Linked DNA regions of Homo sapiens: region 1 is linked to region 2. The links are contacts of gene promoters, found by promoter capture Hi-C in blood cells and fetal thymus (Javierre and others, 2016). All regions are on one chromosome and are shown on one strand. The core of a region is centred on a gene start or on the middle of the fragment in contact, and the rest is flanking DNA. Distances in the headings are between cores, read along the strand shown.

Evidence for each region. Contacts are between HindIII fragments. The CHiCAGO score rates a contact against its expected background, and 5 or more counts as called.
Region 1: a fragment that was not itself captured here is called in contact with the fragment with the promoter of XRCC1 in region 2 in 11 of 17 cell types (fetal thymus, naive CD4 T cells, naive CD8 T cells and 8 more); the score reaches 17.3 in fetal thymus.

Annotation. Positions count from the first base shown.
Region 1 is chr19:43,458,067-43,464,211 of GRCh38, reverse strand. It overlaps LYPD3 (LY6/PLAUR domain containing 3), which reads left to right. Exons shown (of 5, transcript NM_014400.3): 3 at 443-613; 4 at 925-1,086; 5 at 2,365-3,425. The coding sequence ends at 2,861. Among named protein-coding and RNA genes, the nearest start is that of LYPD3, 4.5 kb to the left of the region's middle. RefSeq lists enhancers at 1-383, 936-985, 1,016-1,075 and a silencer at 626-785. The HindIII fragment of the contact is 1,815 bases long and covers 1,374-3,188 here.
Region 2 is chr19:43,572,916-43,579,091 of GRCh38, reverse strand. XRCC1 (X-ray repair cross complementing 1) reads left to right here and starts at 3,565. Exons shown (of 17, transcript NM_006297.3): 1 at 3,565-3,684; 2 at 4,090-4,182. The coding sequence starts at 3,634. PINLYP (phospholipase A2 inhibitor and LY6/PLAUR domain containing) reads right to left here and starts at 3,291. Exons shown (of 6, transcript NM_001193621.3): 1 at 2,173-3,291; 2 at 1,831-1,977; 3 at 386-502. The coding sequence starts at 1,900. RefSeq lists enhancers at 2,139-2,664, 2,665-3,191, 3,192-3,351 and a silencer at 3,452-3,611. The HindIII fragment of the contact is 21,720 bases long and covers 1-3,891 here.

The DNA.
Region 1 (6,145 bases), core at 1,032-3,531, 110 kb after region 2:
CCCTTTCAGCCTGGCCGGGACCCTACGACACAGCCTTGCAGGCCAGGCCTTCTCTATTAACAATTACAAGCGCGAGGAGCAGAGAGTTGAGAACTGGGTGGGGCGGACGGGGAGAGCTCGGGTTTGGAACGAGGTCACGTCCTATGCACTTTTTCTGCTCCACCAATGAGACCTCCCCATCCCTGCCTGTCAACCAGGCTGTCTCCTCCGACTCAGCTCTTTGAGGTTCCGCCCCCGTTCCGTGACCCCGCTCCTCCCTGCTTCGGTCGTTCTTTCCGCTCTGAGCGGCTCTTTGGGGGCGTCCATCCGCCAATTCCTGCCTGTCGGTCCTGTGGTGTTGGCCTATTTGAGGCCCCGCCCCTCCCAGACCCTACCCAACTCTGGGCCACGCCCCATCTGAGACCACGCCCACAGCTAATCCCGCCCTTGTCCCTCTCCCTAGTCCACGGACAATTCTCGCTGGCAGTGCGGGGTTGCGGTTCGGGACTCCCCGGCAAGAATGACCGCGGCCTGGATCTTCACGGGCTTCTGGCGTTCATCCAGCTGCAGCAATGCGCTCAGGATCGCTGCAACGCCAAGCTCAACCTCACCTCGCGGGCGCTCGACCCGGCAGGTCCGTGGGGGCCGGGCCGTAGCTGCGGGGGCGGAGCCACATTCGGGCCTGCCAAGATAGAGGTGGAGCCGTGGCAGAGGCGGGAGTACTCGACCTGGGCTGGGGGTGGGGTCACACTCTGGGGCGGGGCCAAGAGGCAGCAGGAGGGACTTTCTGGCTGTAGGCGCCGCGAGGTTGCGCGCTGGGGCGGGGCTACTAGTAGGCGGGGTCATCGATAGTGCCGGGGCCAGGCCTTAGGGGCGGGGCTAGAGGACGAGCTGCGGTTCCCGAACCCTTTCGACACCTTTTCTTCCTCTCGGCTCCCCTCGCAGGTAATGAGAGTGCATACCCGCCCAACGGCGTGGAGTGCTACAGCTGTGTGGGCCTGAGCCGGGAGGCGTGCCAGGGTACATCGCCGCCGGTCGTGAGCTGCTACAACGCCAGCGATCATGTCTACAAGGGCTGCTTCGACGGCAACGTCACCTTGACGGCAGGTGAGGGAGCCCCGGAGCACGGGACCTACGGGAGTTGTGGTAGCCCTTCTGAAGCACCCTGGGCGGTAGGGAGCCCTTTACCCAAAGCGTTTCCTTAACCTGCGACGCATTCTGGGAATCGTGGGGCCTAGGTGCTTGTATCGTAGGGCATCATGGAAAATGCAGTCCCTTCCCCCAACATATTAATAGTGTGGGGATAGTGATGCTTTGTCCCAGAGTGTTTTGGAGGGAAATGCATTTCCATAGAGGGCTGCCAGGTACTTAAGAGGTATTTAAGCCTCTAAGCTTCTGCCCAGGCACTGCGGGGAATCTCTAGTTCTTAGCCCTTAAAACTCAAGGGGTCCCCCGCCTGTCCCAGACTATTGAGAAATGTAACCATGGAAAATGAAGTTCTTCAAATCCCATCCCCTGCCAGTTATGCTATGGAAGATGTAGTTCTTTTTTATTTTATTATTACTATTTTTTTTTAAAGACAGCATCTTGCTCTATCGCCTAGCCTGGAGTGTAGTGGCGCAATCATAGCTCACTGCAGCCTCTACCTCTTGGGCTCAAGCAGTCCTCCCGCCTCAGCCTCCCAAGTAGCTGGGACTACAGGGTGCACCGCCACGACTGGTTCCTTTTATTTTTGGTAACAGTGGGGTCTTGCCATGTTACCCAGGCTGGTATTGAACTCTTGGGCTAAGAGATCCCCCTGCCTAGGTCTCCCAGAGTGCTGGGATTACAGCCGTGAACCACTGAGCCTGGTGTGGAGATGTAACTCTGACTCTAAGAGTAAATTCTGATGGGGAGGTAAAAGCCAGGGTGAAGGCTAAGGGGATAATGGTGAGAGGGTTGTAGAGGAAGTTTGTTCTGCACTGTGGTCTTGTGAGAGGTCTTGTATCTCAGTCTAAGCCTTTGTTTTAAACCCTACTTTTGGTTCAGCCTACACACATTTCCATTCAAAGCACAATGGAAAATGTTAATCCACCATGTGCCAAAGACAGTGAGTCTGTCTGTTTCTCATAGTAGGACCTGAGTTGAGATTTTGGGATTAATGGATGCAGAGACTTTCTGTCTCATTTTGGGGGTTCTCTGTTCTTTTTTTTTTTTGCAAGACAGAGTCTCACTCTGTTGCCCAGTGATCCACCTGCCTCGGCTTCCCAAAGTGCTGGGATTACAGGCGTGAGCCACCACGCCCGGTCAGGTTCTCTGTTCTTGTCTGATGCCTCTAAGTTTTGTTCTGGCCATGTCAACCTCTCTCCCTCCAGCCACTGACCTATCTGTGTCTCCTTCCTGCAGCTAATGTGACTGTGTCCTTGCCTGTCCGGGGCTGTGTCCAGGATGAATTCTGCACTCGGGATGGAGTAACAGGCCCAGGGTTCACGCTCAGTGGCTCCTGTTGCCAGGGGTCCCGCTGTAACTCTGACCTCCGCAACAAGACCTACTTCTCCCCTCGAATCCCACCCCTTGTCCGGCTGCCCCCTCCAGAGCCCACGACTGTGGCCTCAACCACATCTGTCACCACTTCTACCTCGGCCCCAGTGAGACCCACATCCACCACCAAACCCATGCCAGCGCCAACCAGTCAGACTCCGAGACAGGGAGTAGAACACGAGGCCTCCCGGGATGAGGAGCCCAGGTTGACTGGAGGCGCCGCTGGCCACCAGGACCGCAGCAATTCAGGGCAGTATCCTGCAAAAGGGGGGCCCCAGCAGCCCCATAATAAAGGCTGTGTGGCTCCCACAGCTGGATTGGCAGCCCTTCTGTTGGCCGTGGCTGCTGGTGTCCTACTGTGAGCTTCTCCACCTGGAAATTTCCCTCTCACCTACTTCTCTGGCCCTGGGTACCCCTCTTCTCATCACTTCCTGTTCCCACCACTGGACTGGGCTGGCCCAGCCCCTGTTTTTCCAACATTCCCCAGTATCCCCAGCTTCTGCTGCGCTGGTTTGCGGCTTTGGGAAATAAAATACCGTTGTATATATTCTGCCAGGGGTGTTCTAGCTTTTTGAGGACAGCTCCTGTATCCTTCTCATCCTTGTCTCTCCGCTTGTCCTCTTGTGATGTTAGGACAGAGTGAGAGAAGTCAGCTGTCACGGGGAAGGTGAGAGAGAGGATGCTAAGCTTCCTACTCACTTTCTCCTAGCCAGCCTGGACTTTGGAGCGTGGGGTGGGTGGGACAATGGCTCCCCACTCTAAGCACTGCCTCCCCTACTCCCCGCATCTTTGGGGAATCGGTTCCCCATATGTCTTCCTTACTAGACTGTGAGCTCCTCGAGGGCAGGGACCGTGCCTTATGTCTGTGTGTGATCAGTTTCTGGCACATAAATGCCTCAATAAAGATTTAATTACTTTGTATAGTGCTTTAAAGGAGTCACTTCCACCTTGTTTCTCGCAATAACCGCTCTAGCTGAGCTAGGGTGGGCATCATAAAGCCTTTAACGGGAGAGATATGGGACCTAGAGCCGCAGTCCTGGGGGAAGTCACGGTTGAACTTTAATCTCCTGGGTCTATCCTGCATGTGGGTGGTCCCACTGGTGAGGGGGAGACCGGGCGAAACCATTAAGCAGCATGGAGGGGCGAATGGGGCTTTTAGCAATGCCAGGGAATAGAGAGCTTTGTCTAATGAGTTTATGTACCCTCCCTAGGCTCCACCCGCCTTGTCATCCAGCCAGCCGTCTGCATTGTTTTAGAGACGGGGTCTCTGTTCACCCAAACTGGACTGCAGTGGCCCAATCATAGCTCACTGCAACCTCTAACTCCTGCCTCAGGCTCCCAAGTAGCTGGGACTACAGGCTTATCCCATCATACTTGGCTAATTTTATTTTTTGTAGAGATGAGGTCTTGCTATGATGCCCAGTCCTCCTGCCTTGGACTCCCAAAGTGTTGGGATTACAGGCAGGAGCCACTGCACCCGGCTTCATCTGGTTTACTAAGAGTCATTAAGCCTGGGTGCAGTGGCTCATGCCTGTAATGCCAGCACTTTGGGAGGCAGAGGCAGCTGGATCACCTGAGGTCTGGAGTCCGAGACCAGCCTGACCAACATGGAGAAACCCTGTCTCTACTAAAAATACAAAATTAGCTGGGCATGGTGGCACATGCCTGTAATCCCAGCTACTCGGGAGGCTGAGGCGGGAGAATCGCTTGAACCCAAGAGGTGGAGGTTGCGGTGAGCCGAGATCACGCCACTGCACTCCAGCGTGGGCAAAGAGTGAAACTCCGTCTCAAAAAAAAAAGTCATTAACTGGGCTTACCTACTGTGTCCCACTTGTCTGTAGGACCCGGGGGTGCTGCTGTTGGTCTTTGCTTGATGTTGGGGACCTGGGGCTTGAGCCCCACCTCCATCTCCTTCCAATCAGATGAAGGCCTGGCCCTAGAGGCACTGGAGGGGAAAAGCCTGGTTTGGGAATGAGAGAGTTCCTGGTAGGCTTTGCGACTGCTTGATGGGAGGAGGATCAGATGTGGGGAATAGTGAGATCATAACAGTATATTGCCAATATTGCTATTGATAGCCAATATTACTATTGATAATGGGGAGTAGTGTGAGGTAACAACAAAACAATAGCAAATAAGGAGAATAGCAACAAAATAGAACATCAATAAGAGTATGAGCTCTTATTCTGAAACACATATATTGCAATACATGTATAGAGGGAAACATCAGTGATGGTAAATGTAGTGTTGGGAGTATTAATGATTTTTCTTTTTTTTTTTTTTTGAAATGGAGTTTTGCTCTTGTTACCCAGGCTGGAGTGCAATGGCACAATCTCAGCTCGCCACAACCTCCCCTCCCAGGTTCAAGCGATTCTCCTGCCTCAGCCTCCCGAGTAGCTGGGATTACAGGCATGTGCCACCATGCTTGGCTAATTTTATATTTTTAGTAGAGATGGGGTTTCTCCATGTTGGTCAGGCTGGTCTCAAACTCCTGACCTCAGGTGATCCACCCACCTTGGCCTCCCAAAGTGCTGGGATTACAGGCGTGAGTCACCATGCCCGGCAGAGATTTTTAAATTTTAATTTAACTTTTATTTGTATTGTAGAGATTGGCGTCTCACTATGTTACCCAGGCTGGTCTCGAACTCCTGGGCTCAGATGATCCTCCTGCCTCTGTCTCTCAAGTGCTGGGATTACAGATGTGAGGCACCGTGCCCAGCTGTGTTAGTGATTAAAGACAGTCTTACTAGATGCCAAGTCTATGCTATCAGTTTACAGCCATCATCTCATTGACTTTTCCACATATTTTCAGATGGGATGATTGGGGAAACTGAGGCTCAGAATGATGAAGTAATTACCCACAGCAAATAATACATTGATTATGTGCCAGGTACTGTATTAAGTGCTGTACTTGGATTAATATATTTAATCTACAAAACCATCCTATGAAGTAAGTGTTAATCACCTGCATTTTACAAGATGGGGAAATCAGGGCTAGAGAGGTTAAGAAACTTGCCCCACGTCACTCAGCTATTAAGCAGTGGAGCTCGGATTTGAACACGGGCAGGTCAGCTTTACAGAGTGTACCAACACTGCCATAATGTTTCCCTCAGCTTGACTAAACTTTAGACAGGCTTCCTCCTGCCTCTAGGCCCTCAGAATCCAGAGGGTCTAACCACAGAGGCCCCTTACCTCCCTTTTCTTAGAGCATTTACTTGAGAAAACTTGTCATTGTAAATTATTTCTTTGTCCATTTGAGATGGATATAAACCTCTTTAAAAGTCTTGGCCGGGCGCGGTGGCTCACGCCCGTAATCCCAGTACTTTGGGAGGCCAAGGCGGGTGGATCACGAGGTCAGGAGTTCAAGACCAGCCTGACCAACATGTTGAAACCCCGTCTCTACTAAAAATACAGAAATTAGCCAGGTGTGGTGGCAAGTGCCTGTAATCCCAGCTACTCAGGAGGCTGAGGCATGAGAATCGCTTCAACCTGGGAGGCGGAGGTTGCAGCGAGCCAAGATCACGCCATTGCACTTCAGCCTGGGGGCGACAAAATGACACTCTGTCACAAAAAAAAAAAGAAAAAAAAAGTATCTTGCCAGTTGATAGCCCAGGAAATGGAGTCTCACTATGTTGCCCAGGCTGATCTT
Region 2 (6,176 bases), core at 2,316-4,815:
GCCTCTTCCTTCTCTATCCACTCCCCACCATTTCCACCTCCTGCCAGTTAGATTCTTCCCCTCTCACTATTTCTCTGCCCCCCACAGTGTCTTTCCTTACCCCTCTTCTGCCTAAGAAAGTCTATTAACTCTCACCCCTCCCACATTTTCCTTCTCTTTAGGACAGTGTCATTTTCAGAATTCTGTGACAATAATGATTTCTATCACACCACTTATTTCTGTTCCCTCCATCTCATGATGGTCTTTCCCTCTTTCCTGCTCTCCACTGATTTCTTCCCACGCTCCCGTCTTGAGAACCATGATGATCCCCCCTCAGCATGGTAGTCTCTTCCACCCTGAAGGTACACCCCACCTCCCCACCAGGTCCCAGGCCACATCCTCTTACTTGAAGTAGCCTTCCCGACCAGGAGCACACATGTGTCCTTGTCACTGCTGCAGGTCTTCATTTGGCCATGGCACCTGCTCCCCGCCGCCGTACATATTTCGCAGTGTAGTGGGCACCCTGCAGTGTAGACAGAGGGCGAGGCTGTAGTCATGGGTGGTGTGGTCTTCGGACCACGACTTTGACTTAGGACTTTTGTGTCCTGAGAGAGGAGGGACCAGCAGCTCCCTGGTTTTTCATGGGCGGGATGTTGACCACTGCCCAAGGAACTGTCCAGAGTTGGACGAAGAAGCAGTGGTGATGCCAGCAAAGCTGCTTCCAGGGGCGGGAAGCGACTCCACCATGAAGCCTGTTTGCCTAATTACATGGCTGGGGATTTTGGATGCCAGGGTCCGCTGAGAAAGCTCAGGGGCAGGGAGGGGTCGTGATGGAGGTTTCCATGGACTTTTGTGAAACTTCAGGTCCAGCTGGTTCTTGAATGTGGGATTCTCCTCCTTGAAGGTGCCATGTAGGTCTTGTAGACAGCAGGAGCTCAGGCAGGGGGCCCTGAGGCTAGGGTCTGCATCCCAGGTCAAGGAGGGAGAGTGAGGACCAGGAGGGCAGAGGACTTGAACTTCTTGGTTCTGAGAGAGGGGACAGCTAGGGGCCCAGAAACCTGGGTCCTGGGGAAAGTGAGGCTTACTTGGACTCCTGTGTGCAGGGGAGGAGGGGGCTGGGGCCTGAACTTCTTAGTCTAAGGAGAAAGGAAATCTCTCTACCTCTTTTAAAAAAATATATCATATGATATTAATGTATTTTTTTTGAGATGGAGTTTTGCTCTGTCACCCAGGCTGGGGAGTGCAGTGGCACGATCTTGGCTCACTGCAACCTTTGCCTCCCAGTTTCAAGCAATCCTCTCACCTCAGCCTCCCAAGTAGCTAGGATTACAGGCGCCCACCACCAAGCTCAGCTAACTTTTTTTGTATTTTTAGTAAAGACGGGGTTTCACCATGTTGGCCAGGCTGGTCTTGAACTCCTGACCTCAAGTGATCCACCTGCCTCGGCCTCTTAAAGTGCTGGGGTTACAGGCATGAGCCACCGCACCTGGCCTTCTCCCTCTTTTTTTTTTTTTAATTATATTTTTAAAGATTTCCCTTTCCAGCCATGCTCTCATCTGATTTCCTAGAATTGAGATGTGTTTGGGATCCTTCCTGGAGGATGGAGGATTCAGAGCCCACCAAGCCCCTCTCTCAGGGATCCAATCACAGGAGCTTTTCTTCTCTGGGACCCCCAGGCTTTCTCTTCCTTTACCCTTGGCCTCTTCCATGAATCTGAATTTCCAGAATGCCTCCCCGTTCACCTTGAGGACTTGCTGAAGGCTCTTTCTCTCTCTATATCTCTCTCTCTCTCAATCTGGGACCTCTCTCTTCCTGAGGTCCCAGAGACAGTTCAGGTCCCTTGTCACTTACCAAGACCCAGGAGGGTGCAGAGCAACACAAAGGCCAGCAGAAAGGTCTCTGGTCTCCTGGAGAGCCTCATGGTGTGTGTATCAGCAGTACCTGGTCCCCAGCTTTTATAGGAAGCTGAGGAGGGGTGGGTCTGGACCCACATTCACCCTACGGGGAGAAATAGCTGAGGTCAGAACCCAGGGCAGTCCTCTGTGGCCTCCGGGTTGGGAAGGCAGAACCAGAATCCAAAAGTGACCTGGGCATCTTGTGCCCAGCCCCCCACCTCCATGGAGACCCCAGGAGTCTGGGCTTCCATCCCCCTCTTCTATTAGAACCCAGAAAGTCACCACCCTGTTTTCTCACCTTCCCACGGCCCATTGTTGTTTGTTTGTTTGCTTGAAGACCAAGACGGAGTTGGGCCTCTTGATTCCCAGTGGCTGCAAGAACTGGGATTCCCTCTCCTTCTCTCTCTTCCCCTCTCCTCCCAAGGAAGCACCCAGTGTGGGTAGGGCCCCACCTTGGAGCACCCAGCATGTCCAGGCTGGTCCTGCGGGTGCGGGGTGCCTTGTCTCCCTTCCCCTCTCTTCATGTGCTCGGCTCACACTCCTTGTGTGTTTGGGCTGTCTCCAGCTGCGACCCCACCCAGGGCTGCACCCTTGGGTCTCCAAGGCACCGAATGAACAGAGGGATGTCTGTCGGCAGTCATAGGCGGGCGTAGTAAAAGACAGATGCCCACAGTCCACATATTGGGAAACTGAGGCTTTTGTGGAAGAACTCCAGGATAGGGGTGTGTGTGTGTGTGTGTGGTGGGGGTTGGGCACATGCTTTGTGTTATATTTAGGACGCAGAACCCTTCTCTTTTGGCCTCAGGCATAAGGCTGAAAGAGATCTGCTAATTTTTTTCGCGCGTGCGCGCGCGCGTATGTATGTATATGTGCGTGTGTGTGTGTGTGGCAAGGGGACAGAGAGAAGAGTGCAGCCGCCTGAGCCATTTGAAGAGATCCTGTTGCGTAGAATCCAGGTTCCCTACGAAACTACGAAAATTCACTCAGATTTGCTGTCCTAGCCCAGCGCAGTCGCTCACGCCTGTAGTTCCAGCACTTTGAGAGGCCGAGGCAGGTGGATCGCTTGAGCTGAGGAGTTCGAGACCAGTCTGGGCAACATGGCAAGACCCGCCGCCCTCTCACCCCATGTCTCCACAAAAAATACAAAAATTAGCCGAATGTGGTGGCGCGTGCGTGTAATCCCAGCTACTTAGGAGGCTGAAGTGGGAGGATCCCTTGGCCCCAGGAGACAGGGGTTGCAGAAAGCCGAGATCGTGCCACTGCACTCCATCCTGGGTGAGAGAGCAAGACCCTGTCTCAACAAAAAATTTTTAAAAAATAAAATAAATAATAATACAGCAAAAAGATTTGCTTTCTCGGCTTCAGTGTGGGCGGTAACTCCATCGTGCAATGAGAAAGGCGAATTTCTTCCAGACACCAATCCCGGAGGTCGCTTCTGTTGCTAGGCTCCCAGAAAGCAGGGTTCGGACGTCATTGGGAGGCGAGGCTAGAGCGGGGTTGTGTGTGGCGGAGGGAGGCGGGGCTGGAGGAAACGCTCGTTGCTAAGGAACGCAGCGCTCTTCCCGCTCTGGAGAGGCGCGACTGGGCTTGCGCAGTGTCGACGCCGGCGCCGGCGCGCCGGGGTTTGAAAGGCCCGAGCCTCGCGCGCTTGCGCACTTTAGCCAGCGCAGGGCGCACCCCGCCCCCTCCCACTCTCCCTGCCCCTCGGACCCCATACTCTACCTCATCCTTCTGGCCAGGCGAAGCCCACGACGTTGACATGCCGGAGATCCGCCTCCGCCATGTCGTGTCCTGCAGCAGCCAGGACTCGGTGAGGGACCTGCATGGGGGAGGTTGGAAGACGTGAGGGAATTAATGAGGATAGCTCTTAAAAGAGCTTTTGGGGTTCTCTTGGAAGTCTAAGGAGAGTCATGGGGGGATTTCCAGGAGGCTAAAAGTGAATTGTGGAGAGATGTTGAATTAGGGACGTTCCGGCGTCTAGGGAACTTCCGGAGAGAAAAGGAGGAATAGGGAAGCTTTCTTGGAGAGCCCATAGGTGAACTTCCACGGGAAAGTGTTGTAGGGGAAACTCCAGGCAGAGTGTCGGGGGATTAACGGGAGAGCTTAAATCTGGGGGTCGTAGAGGCCTTGGGAGGACTCAAAGGAATCATCTGAGAGCTGGAGGCCTAGCTGTCATCTCTGTGCCCTAATTCTCCTCTCCCACTGTTGTTTCCAGACTCACTGTGCAGAAAATCTTCTCAAGGCAGACACTTACCGAAAATGGCGGGCAGCCAAGGCAGGCGAGAAGACCATCTCTGTGGTCCTACAGGTGATCCTGCCACCCCACCTCCTCCTCACTAGGAGTCTGGAGTCCGGGGTTCCAGATTCTGCTCCTGAGCCAACTGGCAGTGGGTTTAGTCACTTTCTTTGCTGGGCCTCAGCTTCCTTACTCGGAAAATGGGCAGCATAATCCCTGTGCCCCTCAGCAGAGAGGAAAGGAGACCCAAGGATTAAGTCCAGGATGACCACAGGAATCAGTGTGTGGTCCTGGGCAGGTGGCATCTACTTTCTGGGTTCCAGTTTCCTCAGCTGGAACAAAATGAATCATTGCCACGTACTCTGCCTCCTGCAGCCAGTGGGCTCAGGGCTGGAAGGTGTCCAGGAAGGTCGTCTAAGCCAATCAACTCCACTTTAAAGAAGGGGAAACTGGCCGGATGCCGTGGCTCATGCCTGTAAACCCAGCACTTTCAGAGCCTGAGATGGGAGGATTGCTTGAGCTCAGGAGTTCCAGACCAGCCTGGGCAACATATCAAGACCCTGTCTCTATTTTTATTAAAATAAATAATTTTTTTTAAAGAATAATAGCCAGGTATGGTGGTTCACACCTGTAATCCCATCACTTTGGGAGGCCGAAGCTGGAGTATTGCATGAGCCCAGGAGTTTGAGACCAGCCTGGGCAATACAGTAAGATGTCATCTCTACCAAAATTTTATAGATTAGCTGAGTATGGTGGTGTGCACCTGCAATCCCAGCTACTGGCGAGTCTGAGGTGAGAGAATTGCTTGAGCCCAGGAGATGGAGGCTGCAGTGAGCTGAGATTGTGCCACTGCACTCCAGCCTGGGCACCAGAGTGAGACCCCCAAAATATAAAAAATAAAATAATAATAATGAGAGCTGGCATTATTCAACGTTACCTGTCAGTCGCTGCTCTACACACCTCACTCACATGGATTAGCTCATTGAGTCCTCATAAAAAACCCCAAGAGGCAGGCTCTGTTATCCCCACTTTTACAGATGAGGAAACTGAGGCCCAAAGAAGTTATACAATTTGCCTGACAGTCAATCTTTTATTTATCTGTTGAGACAGAGTCTCACTCTGTTCCCAGGCTGTAGTGCAGTGGCATGATCTTGGCTTGGCTCACTGCAGCCTCTACCTCCTGGGCTCAAGCGATCCTCCCACCTCAGCCTCCTGAGTAGCTGGGACTGCAGGTGTGCACCACCATGCCTGGCTAGTTTTTTTTGTATTTTTTTAGAGATGGGGTTTCCACCATGTTGCCAGGCTGGTCTCAAACTCCTGGGCTCAAGCGTTCCTCCTGCTTCAGCCTCCCAAAGTGCTCGGATGACAGGCATGAACCATTGTTCCTGGCCTGGGGGCTGCTTTATGACTATAAGGAGCAGAACACTCTGTGGATAGTGCTAGGGTGACGGAAAAATTAACCTTTTGTGAATGGGCAGTCATTCAGCAAATATCCACTCCTCTCCCTCCCACTGGAGGGGGAGTATATTTCCCTGCTCCATTGATGAGTTTGACCATATGATTTACTTAATGGAATTTCAGCACATCTAACTTCAGCAAGGGCCTTAAATGCACTTGGCTTTTGTGCTCCCATAATATGCCATGAGAACATTTGCCAGGTTACTGCTAATCCCAGAAAACTGTGGAATCTCATGGAAGAGACCTGAATCCTCCCAAACTGCAGCCAAAGCAGCCATCCCACAAATTCTTATAAGAATGCTTGTTGGTATAAGTCTCAGTTTTCATGTTGGGAGGTCGAGGTGGGTGAATCGCTTGAACCCAGGAGTTTGAGACCAGCCTGGGTAACATGGGGAAACCCTATCTCTACGAAAAATTATAAAAAATAGCTGGGCTTGGTGGCGTATGCCTGTAGTCCCAGCTACCAGGGAGGCTGAGCGGGGAGGATTGATTGAGCCCATAAGGTTGAAGCTGCAGTGAACTGTGATGGTTTCACTGCACTCCGGCCTGTGAGACAGAGTGAGACTGTATCTCAAAAAAAAAAAAAAAAAAAAAAAGAAAAGATCTCA